Regions from separate parts of the Homo sapiens genome. Here region 1 is linked to region 2. The links are contacts of gene promoters, found by promoter capture Hi-C in human tissues and cell types (Jung and others, 2019). All regions are on one chromosome and are shown on one strand. The core of a region is centred on a gene start or on the middle of the fragment in contact, and the rest is flanking DNA. Distances in the headings are between cores, read along the strand shown. Region 1 overlaps DSC2 (desmocollin 2). Region 2 holds the start of DSG4 (desmoglein 4).

The links. The method cuts DNA at HindIII sites, captures the fragments that hold promoters and counts their contacts. A contact is called where the count stands out against the background at its distance.
Region 1: a contact is called between a fragment that was not itself captured here and the fragment with the promoter of DSG4 in region 2, in 4 of the 25 tissues and cell types used here (H1 embryonic stem cells, heart left ventricle, mesendoderm cells and 1 more).

What each region holds. Positions count from the first base shown.
Region 1 is chr18:31,085,817-31,091,818 of GRCh38, forward strand. DSC2 (desmocollin 2) reads right to left here. Exons shown (of 16, transcript NM_024422.6): 4 at 5,212-5,331; 5 at 3,623-3,778; 6 at 1,853-1,997; 7 at 760-926. Among named protein-coding and RNA genes, the nearest start is that of DSCAS, 13 kb to the right of the region's middle. The HindIII fragment of the contact is 6,527 bases long and covers 540-6,002 here.
Region 2 is chr18:31,373,036-31,379,479 of GRCh38, forward strand. It overlaps DSG4 (desmoglein 4), which reads left to right and starts at 3,742. Exons shown (of 16, transcript NM_177986.5): 1 at 3,742-3,924. The coding sequence starts at 3,877. The region is part of intron 1 of DSG1-AS1 (DSG1 antisense RNA 1); the gene reads right to left. The HindIII fragment of the contact is 6,705 bases long and covers 1-5,964 here.

The DNA of each region.
Region 1 (6,002 bases), core at 2,553-5,052, 290 kb before region 2:
TAAGAATTTAGATGAATAATGCTTCAGGGAGGAGGTAATAGTTGAATAACTAAGTGAATGAATTACTAAGCTAGGGTATTGCAGTAGAAAGAGACAGAATATAGATTTAAAACAATCTTGGAGGTAAAAACATGCTTTAGGAAGTGATGTGATTCAGGGGGGCCAAGAGACATCAAATACAATTTGGAGACCATGACTCCAAGGTGACAATAGAAAATGATTAATAGAGAAAGAATATATAAATATCTTTTTAACTAGAAAACATAGAATGGAAAATATGTTTAGAAGAAAAGAAGACAAGTTAAATTTTAGATTTATTACATCATAAGTACCTGTCAGACATCCAAATCAAGATTTCTAGCAGTTGATTAAAAATGGGAAACCAGAGATTAGAGAGACATAAACTGTCTTTTCATCTATGTAAGAGGTAGAATGTAGATGAGATTGTTGAAAAGATAACAAATTTCTGCATATATTTAAAAGGTTCACTTTTCATATTTGACATTTTGTTTTAATACTGTAAATATGTTTATATCAGGAAATCTGATTGTATGAAACAAACAATTCAGAAAAGAATGAATTAGCAGTTCAAAACCAGCATACTCCAAGGTTATTTAGTGATCTCTATTAACATACATAAAATAATAATGTTTCTAAAATGAGATTCACAACATACTTTTCAAAAACACATCTACAGGAGTTATACAGGTACTATTGAATAGCCACGTTATAATCAGGTTTTATTAATGTTTATGTTACCTCTCTGTCTAGCTGAGATGATGTTGTGGTGATCACGCCTGTAGTTGGATGCATAGAAAATAGGGTGGGTGATGGTGGCACCTGCCCAATGATGGAGTACTTCAGGCGTGTGTGCATCGTGTCAGGCTCATCTTTGTCAGTAGCACACACTTGTCCCACAGTAGTGCCTAGAGAAGAAAAGTCCTTTTTAATCTCCAAAACATTCACATGTTCTATGTTCCCTTTATTTCATTCCTTTTCACCCACCTCAAAAAAGTTCTGGACCACATTATTACATGGCAAAGTCATGGCTTTTATAAATTTGCAGACCTCTCCATACAGTATCACTTCCTTTCAAATATTCTGGCATACTAGCATTTTCGAATTGGGTGATCATATTCATATTTATTGTATTTAATGTATGATTTTATAAATGTTGATACTATCCCTCCATGTATTTTCAGACTAAACAATTCTGATTATTCTATAACTTTTCTCTGTTTGTAAGCTTGTGCTTAGATTGATCATAGGAGTCAGTTTTCTCTAAAACTGCATGGTTCACTTAGACATTTCTAGACAAGGTCTCCAAAACTGCATTCTGACTTTTAGTTAAAACAGACCATTTTCACAGGGCTGAGAAAATGTTTGTATTATTCTCAGTGACTTTCATAATCGTGCCCAGAATACTGGCAATCACATTTAATCCTAGAGAACATCCGTACATATCTTTAAGACTACATCTCCAATTAGTGAAAGACTTATTCTTTTTGGGCTATGTTCTCTTACATCCATCCATCCATAGGATGACAGCATAACATTTATTAACTCCTATTTGTCAGGCACTGTGCTTGGCATTCGCTGTGTATTGAGCTTCACTTCATCTTCATAACAATCTGGCATACTGATAACCCATTTTACAGATGAAGAAATTAGGCTTGCCAAGATTAGGAAATTTGCCAAGCATCACACAGCTAGTGAAACACAGAGTAAAATTCCACCCAGAGTCCCTTATTCTTGCTGCTGGGATACGCTGCTTCTCAACGGACATAGTGAAACTAAATGTATGAATTGAAACACAGTTAATTTGCCATATATTGTTTAAGGAGGTACTCACCCACTCTGCAATTTTCAAAAATTGTAAAAGTATAAGTTTCTTCTGTAAAAATTGGGTAGTTATCATTTTCATCCTCTATTTTGATTATTAGGGGCAGTGGAAGTTCTGGAGTATACCCATCTGGAGTTGTTGCAAAGGCAATTATCTGTGAAGAGAGTAAAATAAGGAGAAAAGTGAAAATAATCTTTTAAAATGAGGTATGCTTCAAATTCATTTTGGCTTTAACTTGGAGACTGTTCAGAACTACAGTATGAGTCTCACCATTTGTTATTGTTCTGGGATATGGATATAATTTTAATGCCAAAGAGGTGCCTAATTTCATGATTCAATATGGCATTGTATGTTTAAATTTATCTCTTTAAATTTATGAAAGATAATTTTAGTTTCTTCATTATTGCTATACTGTTATTCATGAGTGTAACAATTTTTACTGTTATTTTCCCAAACAGCCTTGAAGACTTCTTTATTTTGCTTTGTTTGAAAGGTTCAGGTGCATGGATTTTAAATACAACTTTCTGGATCTTTCTGAACTTGGGATCCTGTAGGATTACCCAGGTACAGTTAACTGGGATATTATCCTATTTTCTACTAATGAGGACTTTAGGCATATCAATGGTTACATTTGGGTAAGTCTTTTCAAAGAATTTTTAATTTAAAAAGGGTGAATCAGAAATGAAACAAATGAATGGTGGTAAACTGTGGTGGAATACAGTTTAATTTTTTTGTTTTTATAATATGAATTTCAATACCAATTTTCTCATAACAGCTATCATAGAAAGGCCAGAACATCCTAGGTACTCAGAAGGCCAGGCCATGGCAATTCTAAACCTAAATACTTTATTCAAAGCTTGCCTGTCTTATTTGATTAATTTGGTCTTCTAATGAATAATTAATTCATCCAAAATAGACATAAAATAATTAAAACTGACTTAAGCAAAATGACCAAGTCCTGTTGGGAAATCAAACCAGCATTAGGTTAAATTCTTTCATATTAACTCACTTTCCAGCATAGGAAATTAACCAGATGATTAAAGGACTGAGTAAGCTTAGGTAAGCACTGTCACACCCCCTACCTGCTCCCCATAAACTAATGCTCTCCCATTGCCAGGGTACTGAGGTTTACTTAATGACTGAACTTCATTTACCTCCTATGATATCTCCATACTATAAAGAGGTTCACAGATCTTTTTGTGCCAACTAAGTAACTGTTCTTGGCCGGGCACGGTGGCTCAGTCCTGTAATCCCAGCACTTTGGGAGGCCGACATGGGCAGATCACCTGAGGTCAAGAGCTTGAGACCAGCCTGGCCAACATGGTGAAACCCCATCTCTACTAAAAATACAAAAAATTAGCTGGGTATCATGGTGCGTGCCTGTGATCCCAGCTACTCAGGAGGCTAAGGTGGGAGGATCACTTGAACCCCGGAGCCAGAGATTGCAGTGAGCCGAGATTACGCCACTGCACTTCAGCCTGGGTGGCAAAGTGAGATGCTGTCTCAAAAAAAAAAAAAAAAAAACTGTTCTTCAAAGTGGTACTGTTGTGGGGGAAAAAAAAATAGTAAAACCATAATACCAGGAACAATCTAATGGAATCCAATATTATTTATTCTATGAAAATATTTTTTGTTTCAAGTCAATTATGTGCTATTAGGGAGTAGCCAGAGCATTGGTGACAAACTCAGAAAGCAGAAAAGGTTACGTGAATTGCAAATGAGAGACAAAATGGCCAAGCATCATCATTGCTAATACAGTACACACATTTTAGACTTTACCTCAAAAGATTCATACTGCTCACGATCTACAGGACGAGTACAATACAAGTTTCCAGTGTCTCTCTCCACATAAAATAAATTCCGAGGTTCTTGGTCAACTCCAGGACCTCTTATGGAATAGTATATGGTATAGTTTTGGGCCGTGTCAGATTGAACCTAGAAAGTAGATATTATATACATGAGACAAATCTTTATTTCAGCAGAGCTTTCATCTATATATTTATGAAATCTCATTGCCATTTTATTAGTTTAAATAATTGCCCTTAATTTATTATTATATATAAATTAAAACAGCAATAGAATAAGAAAGTCCAATTGAGAAATTTCAAGAGCAAGGCATGAGTAAAATAATGTAGTGCATCTTAGTTCTCCAGAATAACTAAAGGAATATTTGACAGGCTAGATGGTGTCTATACATGGAAAAAACACTTAAGACTCTTCCTGTCTTAGAAAACAAAGTATTCTGAGCATGGAAAATTATTCTGTCGTCAATGTTTTAAAAAACTGAGTTTTTATTATATGTAACATAACATTTAAGAACCGAGTTTAAAGTGTACTGTCTGCAGGGCAAAAATGTGGACAATAATTTCCTTAATGAGTTTTTTGTTCTTTGCCAACATCTTCCTTATAGGAACTGAGTAAAAAAAAAAATATGAGTGAGAATAGAAATGGAATAATATTTTGGAATGTGTAATATTCTGATCCTTGATTCGAAAAGCAAATTTCCTCCAAGCTGTGTTCATCCTCTCAGTAACATCCTATCTTTATATCAGGATAACTGACACAACTGTTTTCTAACAATTTCTCAACTTTAATATGCTCTTCTCTCAGCTGTATTAAATTTGTTGGTGGGGTATAAAAAGGATTCTCCCTTGCTATGTCAAGAACTGAGGGAAAATAAACCAAAGTCATAGACTGAATGTAGTAGCCACCAGTAATGGAAGAAGGCAAGAAGGCTTGCTGGGGTTTCTACTGAAAGTTAAAACAAGACAGAGAAAAAGAGCCAGGTATGCTTGGCTCATGCCTGTAATCCCAGCATTTTGGGAGGTTGAGATGGGAGATCATTTCAGCCTAGGAGTTCAAAACCAGCCTAAGCAACATAGTGAGATCTCATCGCTACAAAAAAAAAGAAACAAAAAGAGACAGAGACAGAGAGAGAGAGAAAGAAATGTGGATCCAGTGTGATTTCAGATGTAGATTCAAGAACAAGAAATAGAAAGATAGAAGGGCCTATGTGTCTTCCTCCTTCGTGGCATTTGGTCTTTCATCCAATTTTCTCCTTTATTATGCAAGAGAGTTTTGGGTTTTCTAGCTATTCTTAGGCTTGGCGATACCCTTGCTGATGTGACAATTCATTAAGGAACCATGTGTCTGAGTGCCACAGTTTTATGCTTGGCCTTTGCAAGCTGAACAAAAGTGTATGCAAGTATAAAGAGATATATTTATACCCTTATATGGAAACATATTATACACATACTCATTCACTCACATATTTATACACAACTATTACAAATAACTTCATACTCAGTGTCATAATGGTAAGAGATGGAAACTATAGACTCCCACAGCAGAAAGAAAGAAAACGGTACCTGTTGAAGGAAAAGTGGAAAAGGACCCAAGGAGTTTTCTAGCATCGAACAAGGAATTGGAGCCCATCTTCTCTTGGCGCGCCTTAGAACTTTTTCTTTAGTATGTCTTTTCTTTAGGACCTCAATTCATAAGACAGGAAAAAATAATAAAGTCAATGACTACTTTATTCTCAAACATTAAACAATGACACATCTTTCTCCTCTCAGGAGGATTAGCTGGGTAGGGGTGAGACCATGGGAGTGCTTGAAAACCAAACTAATCATCAACACTGCAAAAAGATAATGAAGAAGTAACTGTCCTAACTGTTATCACAACAATCCTCTTGGGAAAATGATTTGGTGGAAATATGGAAGAAAGAGAGATGGAACTGGAAGCCTAGAAGCAAAACTGAAAAAAAAATTACTGTTGCCCCATTGCCATGCAAAAACATGGGAGAGAGATATGCAAAGAAAATAAGTGTGTATGTGCCCTTCTAAATTTAGCACAAGCAACTTCCACTCACCAGCAACTAGGCAGAGCCAGGGAACCAACAGAGAGATCTGTGTCAGAATGAGGAGAGAAACACGGTGACAACTCTCAAACTGCTGCAGTGAGGAATGGCTAATGGTTGAATACAAGTTATTTTGATCTTGGGTGTCACAACACAATAGCATGCATGTGGTCCAAACCTCCTCCTAAAATAGTTATCTATGTTTTAAGACCACAGATTATGCTAAAATGAATGCGAGAAAAAAGCTTTCCTTTCTTTATACAGAGTTTCAAAACTTGTTGTTAGAAATCCATTCTACGG
Region 2 (6,444 bases), core at 2,492-4,991:
TCAATAATTCTTCAACTTCAGCCTGCCTCCCGAGAATTACCTAAAGAGTATGTTAAGAATGAATAATTCTAGATCTCATCCCCAAAGCTTCTGATTCACTAAATTTGGGGCCAGGGAACCTGCATTTTCTACATAATGGCCTAAGAAATATATTTCAAAAAACACTGCCTACCTTTTGACCTTCCTATTGCTGGATTTCTTCCTCAGACATCCTGAGCTGACCAGATTCCATAGTCGAGGTTGCCAGATATATAACTAACAGCATCAAAGGTTAACCATGTACATGATACAACTTTGTCATAAGAGGGACACTGCCAGTGTCACTGAAGAAACCAGAGTGACATCTAAATAATTATCACACTGTAGAATGGTTGCCACTGTAGTCATCGGGAGGCAGGAGGCAAACTAAGATGATATTTCCTAGATAAGTATGTAGCAAGTATGCAATAAGTATGTAAGTAATACGCTTTATTTAACATACAGCTAGAAGCCACGCTCTTCTGTCTCCACTTATTTGGAATACATCCTATACCTGTGAATTCACAGAGATAATCAACAAGGCATCTCTGTCAGGATGTAAGCATGATTTTAGGGTGTAAACTAACATCATCTTTATGGAAATAACATAACTCTTTACGAAACTGATGTTTAATCTCTATGATTTCTAACACCCACTAAATAACCTGGTTGGCCGGCCCCTTGTTGCCATACATAAGTTGCCTTTAATGAGGGGACAGGATGTTTATCTTCAGTGTGGTAGGTGAACAGACATGTGTTCACAGCAATGACTCTAGGTCAAAACCCTGACAAGCCTTGTTTACCTTTTGTCCCCGCCTCCCCAGGCCCAGGCAGATGAAAACCTTTTGCTTGCGTCAGCTCTGGAAACAACTTGTGCTGCATTTGACCACCATACTTTAGGACCATAATTATTTTTTAAATTTCCTTCCCCCTAACTCTTGCTTTCAAGAAATAGAATTGTCCTTGGATATTTGAATAATATCCAGTAGTAACCCTAGACTAGAATAATTTGATGGAAAAGTTTGCCCTAATGTCATTTCCACAATATCTTTGTCTGTATAAATTACATTTCTGTTTTTCAAAGAGGACTTGTATTGGCATGTATTGAATTCCTTGCCTTTTGTGGCATTGATTTGAAAAGTACAGGTGTTAAAGCTCTCACTGTGTTCTACACAGATGTGATGTGGAGAATAAAGGTGTCTTGCTACTTTATACAATATTATAGAAGCATAAGTACAATAATTAAATATCAGTAGCATCCCTAAAAGCCAATGTATGGTTTCATCTGAGCAAATGAAATGTCACTGGTTTGACATCAAAAATAAATACTATAAAAAACTTGCTAAAAATTCTGCTCATAGAACCAACAGTTCAGTAAACTCTAAAGTATGGGAAAGTCTTTTAAAGCTAATAGTGTTTAACCATCCACTATTTTGCCTTCACATACGTAGCTAATAATGAAAAGTGGCTTGGTATTTATATAAACTGACTATGAATGAGGAGATGGAACTCTTGCCTATCTTTGACCCTAATAAACCATACAGCCTCCCTAGACTATCACTATCACATGGGTAGGAGAGAGGCAAGATAGGAGAGATTGGATTATATGATCTCTGTGGTATCTTTAAGCATTAATGTTTTATGCTCTGTTTCTACAATGACTGATACTCTTCAAGAGAAACGGAAGTAGCTACTCTTTATCTACACAAGCTCAGAACCATAACCAAGTTTTGTCTTTGGGAATTCCACTGTAAAATCATCCATCCCCTGTGGGAAACAGTAGCTCACACCTGTAATCTCAGTACTTTAGGAGACCAAGGCAGGAGGATCACTTAAGCCCACGAGTTTGAGACCAGCCTGGACAATATAGCAGGACCTTGTCTCTACAAAATATTTTTAAAATTAACCAAGTGTGGTGACATGCACCTGTAAACCCAAGTACTTGAGAGGCTGAGGTGGGAGGATCACTTGAACTCAGGAGGCAGAGGTTGCCGTGAGCTGCACTCAGACCACTACTGCACTCCAGCCTGAGAAGCAGAGCAAGACTCTGTCTCCAAAAAAAACTTTAAAGCAAAAGATCATTCCCACAAATCTCCAAGGAGTAAACAGAAATGAAATGATGGGGCTTCAGGTAGTTCCTCCTTAGTTACTGAAGAATCTTTTAAATATGTTCATAATTATAATCTGGATTCAAATTCTGGATACCATTGAAATCAGGAGTTTCAAATGGAGAAAGCTAGAGGTACCCACATAAATGATCTAGTACCTATTTCTATTGCTTCCTGTTTCTTTTCTTTAAAACTCATCCTATAAATAGCATTCAAGTAGATAGAAAATCTTATATTTAGAAGAAAATATAAGAAAAATCTTATATGTAGAAGAAATCATCTATAGTGTAAACAAAAGATAGAGACCTTTGTGAAATATCTCCTTCAAACACAACAATAGAGAAGAATGTTGTTTTTCCCTTGTAAAAAGCAATGTCACTTAAAGACCTGGAGTTGTTTCATTAATTCTCTTAGGCAAATTAAATTATCTAATTCAACATGACATGAAATAATGCAAAAGTAAATTACTTTATCTGGCTTCCAAAAATACTAAAACTACTTTTCTCAAGAAACTAAGCAATACTTAGAATACATTCTATTACCAGGGTCAACCTTGTTTCTGAATTACAGTGATGGGATAGTGAAGACAGGAGGCAGTCTCCCTTTGAAATTCTCCAACCAACATGTATTATCTATCAATCAGAGAACAGTTAACTGCATTTTCTTTTAAGTTTATTGATGTTGCTGCCAGCCTGCAATGTTTGCATCAGGACACTCTATACCCTGTTTCAAACCCATACTAACAAAGGAAAAGGGAGACACGAAAAAGGGAAATAATATTCAAAAATATCCAGATCCCACTCTGGGCTTTTTTTCATTAAATTCTCACGTTTCCAACTTCAGTTTCTCCTTAATAAATATTTGTGGTGGTGTAAAATGTGTTCCTCACCCACATTATGTACTTTTTATCAGTGGTAATACTATGAGAAGTGAGAATGTTGTATTGTAGTTACTTTAAAATGATTTTGTAAATATCATATTGTAGAGGTTTGACTGAATAATCAAGAAAGAAAATGCCAAAGTATGGAAACAAACATACTGGTACTAGTTAAATCAGAGTTCCTTCATCTTAACTTTGTTATTTCAGAAAATCTTTAAAATTGAGAGTGCGGTTCAACCACAAGACATTTTAAAGAGAGAAGCAGGACTCAACTGAATTGAAATGAGCGTCATTATTCTATCTTTCTTCCTATACCATACTTGAGTCCTGATGACTTTCAACAATGGCCTCTGCTAAAAGTATCATTCCTTGAAGTGGGTTCTGCAGTGGACATGTGTGTGTATGTGTTGTCAGTATATGTAATTTTGCTTTTACAATGTTGGCAGTAAGAAGAAGCCTTCTAATTTTATTCAGCATGATGATAGGCCCTAGCATTTTAATTATTTTTTATGTTGTGAGTAATTTATTATTCACTGGCTATCTTCCCTGTAAATCTTGTCCTCGCTCTGTAAGGTTTTTCTTTGGTGTCCAACAAAGGGTTTCATTGCAATAAGAATCAAGGTGTGTCTAAATTCTTACCCAGAGCCCAAACAATGCCAGTCTTCCAGACCAGCCTGGGAGTTTGGGGTGGGGAAACAGTCATTATAGAATATCTTCATCTCTCTGCCCAGAGATCACCACAGTTATCACCCATGCCCTCCTAAAAGGGTGTCTCAAAGCATATCTTTCTGTAGAGCAGAATTCGGAACTGAGAAGACGAGGGCTCAAATTGAATCTCACAGGATTTGCGTGCAAGAGAAACCCAAAGGAATGGATTGGCTCTTCTTCAGAAACATTTGCCTTTTGATCATTCTAATGGTAAGTAGAATTTAAAGAGGTGGGAAGGAAATGCAGCCTCAAGGTCTTGTCTCTGTCAACTGTCGGGCTTTCTACATGGGATTTATTCCATTTTTAATCTCCTTCCTGCAAAGAGAGTTCTAGAAGTCCAGCCTCTGTTAATTTCAAACAACTCTCTCCGCCTTGAGGAACAAAATGCCATAGAGAAGCGGGGTGAGAATCTGGCTGAATTAAATTTATATGCCCTCAGAGACATAATCTACTTCACTTTGAGTGTTAGGACTATTCTAAAATTTTAAATTGGAAATAAAATTCATATTCTATGATCATATAAATAAATCAGATAGATTGCTGTGAAAACTGCCAGTGCAAATGGGTTCTAAATTTGAAGGGAAGTTAATCAAACCCATTTCTTTTCAATAGTTATTTCCCTATGAGTTTCTTTCAAAGTGGAGGAATGATAGCCATGTTGAAATTACATTGCAACTAATGATGACATACTAAAGTCATGAGAACTTTTTCCAGTCAGATATTGCTAAAGAAAAATGAAGCCCAGCCATCAAGACAAAACTTTTCTGGAATTATGAATGCATTCCTACAGACCAGCAAAGAAATATTTAAATGACTTATTTCTTTACAGTAAACATGGCATCTTGGATATTATATTTCTTTCCTCTAACCTTTGGGTGCCCAAGGTGTGACATGATTTCCAGACAGGCAGCATGCATAGCAAATATCCTACCCTAGAAAGAGATAATTCCAACTCCAAAGAAGAACAAAGTTCCAGTTGGCCAATCAACAAACTATTGCCAATTCTGGGAGGGTAAGAGGACAGGATTATTAGGAACTGTACAAATTTTTCAAAGTAAATTAAGACAAATGCATTATAGTTGGCCACACTTCAATCTCCCAGGAGTATCCAGGTTAGCGCTACAACCTAAGCTTAGAAAGTGATTCCCATCCTATTCTTAGGCAAGTGGCAATTATACCAGACTCCTCTGAACATCAGTTGTAAGAGACAGAGAGTAGCTAGGGCTGGGAGAGATGGGAGCACGTCATTGTCCAAGAGGCACAGTGAGAGCTACTCTTCTGGAATTCACATTTCTAAACTTCAAGAGCAGTGCGGGAGCCGAACACTGCCAAAGGGCACACAACCCCAAGCTCAAAAGGGAACGTGACAACAGTGGTAGAATATTGCATCCTCTGAGTTTAGGAGACAGATTATTAAACAATACCATTTTTGAAAAATATTTTTAAACTTAAAAACATAAGACGAAGGGCAATATTCTGTTACAATGATCATTATTTATTTACTAAATAAAATAAATGTTACTAAAAGAAGAGGCAAGAATCGGACTTGGTCTTCAATTGAAATAGTAAGTTATGAGGATATACCTCTTGTTACTCTTCTACCGAGTATATTCATGCTTTGACTCAGATAAACTTTTGGTTTTCTGTAAGGAAAATTGTATGTGTCAAGATTTTAGAGGCCACTTCTGAGCACTAAATCTTGCCTCCCATTGCCTTCTGCACAGGCATGATTTATGATAATATTATTTAATTGAAGAGTTGATTCTTCTCCTTGATCTTGAAAGAGTATTATACTTCAGACTCTCAGGATCTTTTTTTGGTAGTATTTATTTATTTTCCTTGGTAATACTAGCGTTTTTAATACTTAATTCCTCCTACTCCTCATTGATATTGAAGTCTTTGTGTTTGACATTTCACGGTAATTGTGAAAAAGTTCTTTAAGTATTTTTTTTCTTTATGCTTGTCTAAAAGATCCCTTACCATATCAATTAATAGTGTCTGGAATTGGGAGGTAGAGACTTCTGGCATATTTCAAAATTGAAACAAATACAAGAATTGTTTAAGGAGAATCAATGAGATGTTATAGATATTATAGGAAAGTAGACATGCCTACTTCTCTTTAATTTCCTGAACTTGAACTCTGCCCCTTCTTCATTAACTAAATCAAAGACTCTCTGGGGCATCATTGCAGCTTACACTAATGAGGGTGTGGCAGCCTCTCAGAGACTCACAGGTACTTTGTGTCAGCTACATCTCAACCGCAAAGAGCACTGTAAACAAAGTTCTGACTGGCTAACCAGCAAAAGGTACTCAAAACTCTAGATTACAATAGGGCACTGATTTTATCACGAGTCATTTGGCATTTTCTTCCTAAGGATGCTTATCATGTTCTTCTATAAAACAGACAGGGGTGGTGAGGGACATTCAACAGTGAATCGAGATTCAGAAGTCCCGGGTTTGAATTACAGCTCCTCTTCAAAGTGGCTGTGTAACTTTGGCAAAAGCACCCAACTTCTCAGGGCTTCCTTTGACCTCATGTGAGAATGTATGGTTAGACATGATGTTATTAAGTTGCTTCCACTGTAGAAACTGCAATTCTAAAATTATCTCCACTGAATACTTACATAGTAGAAGTTCATTTCTGGCTCATAAATAGTTTTCATAAATTTGGCTGGAGAATCTGAGGATTTAGGCAATTCTATGGATTGTATAAATTTTATAAGGAAGGAA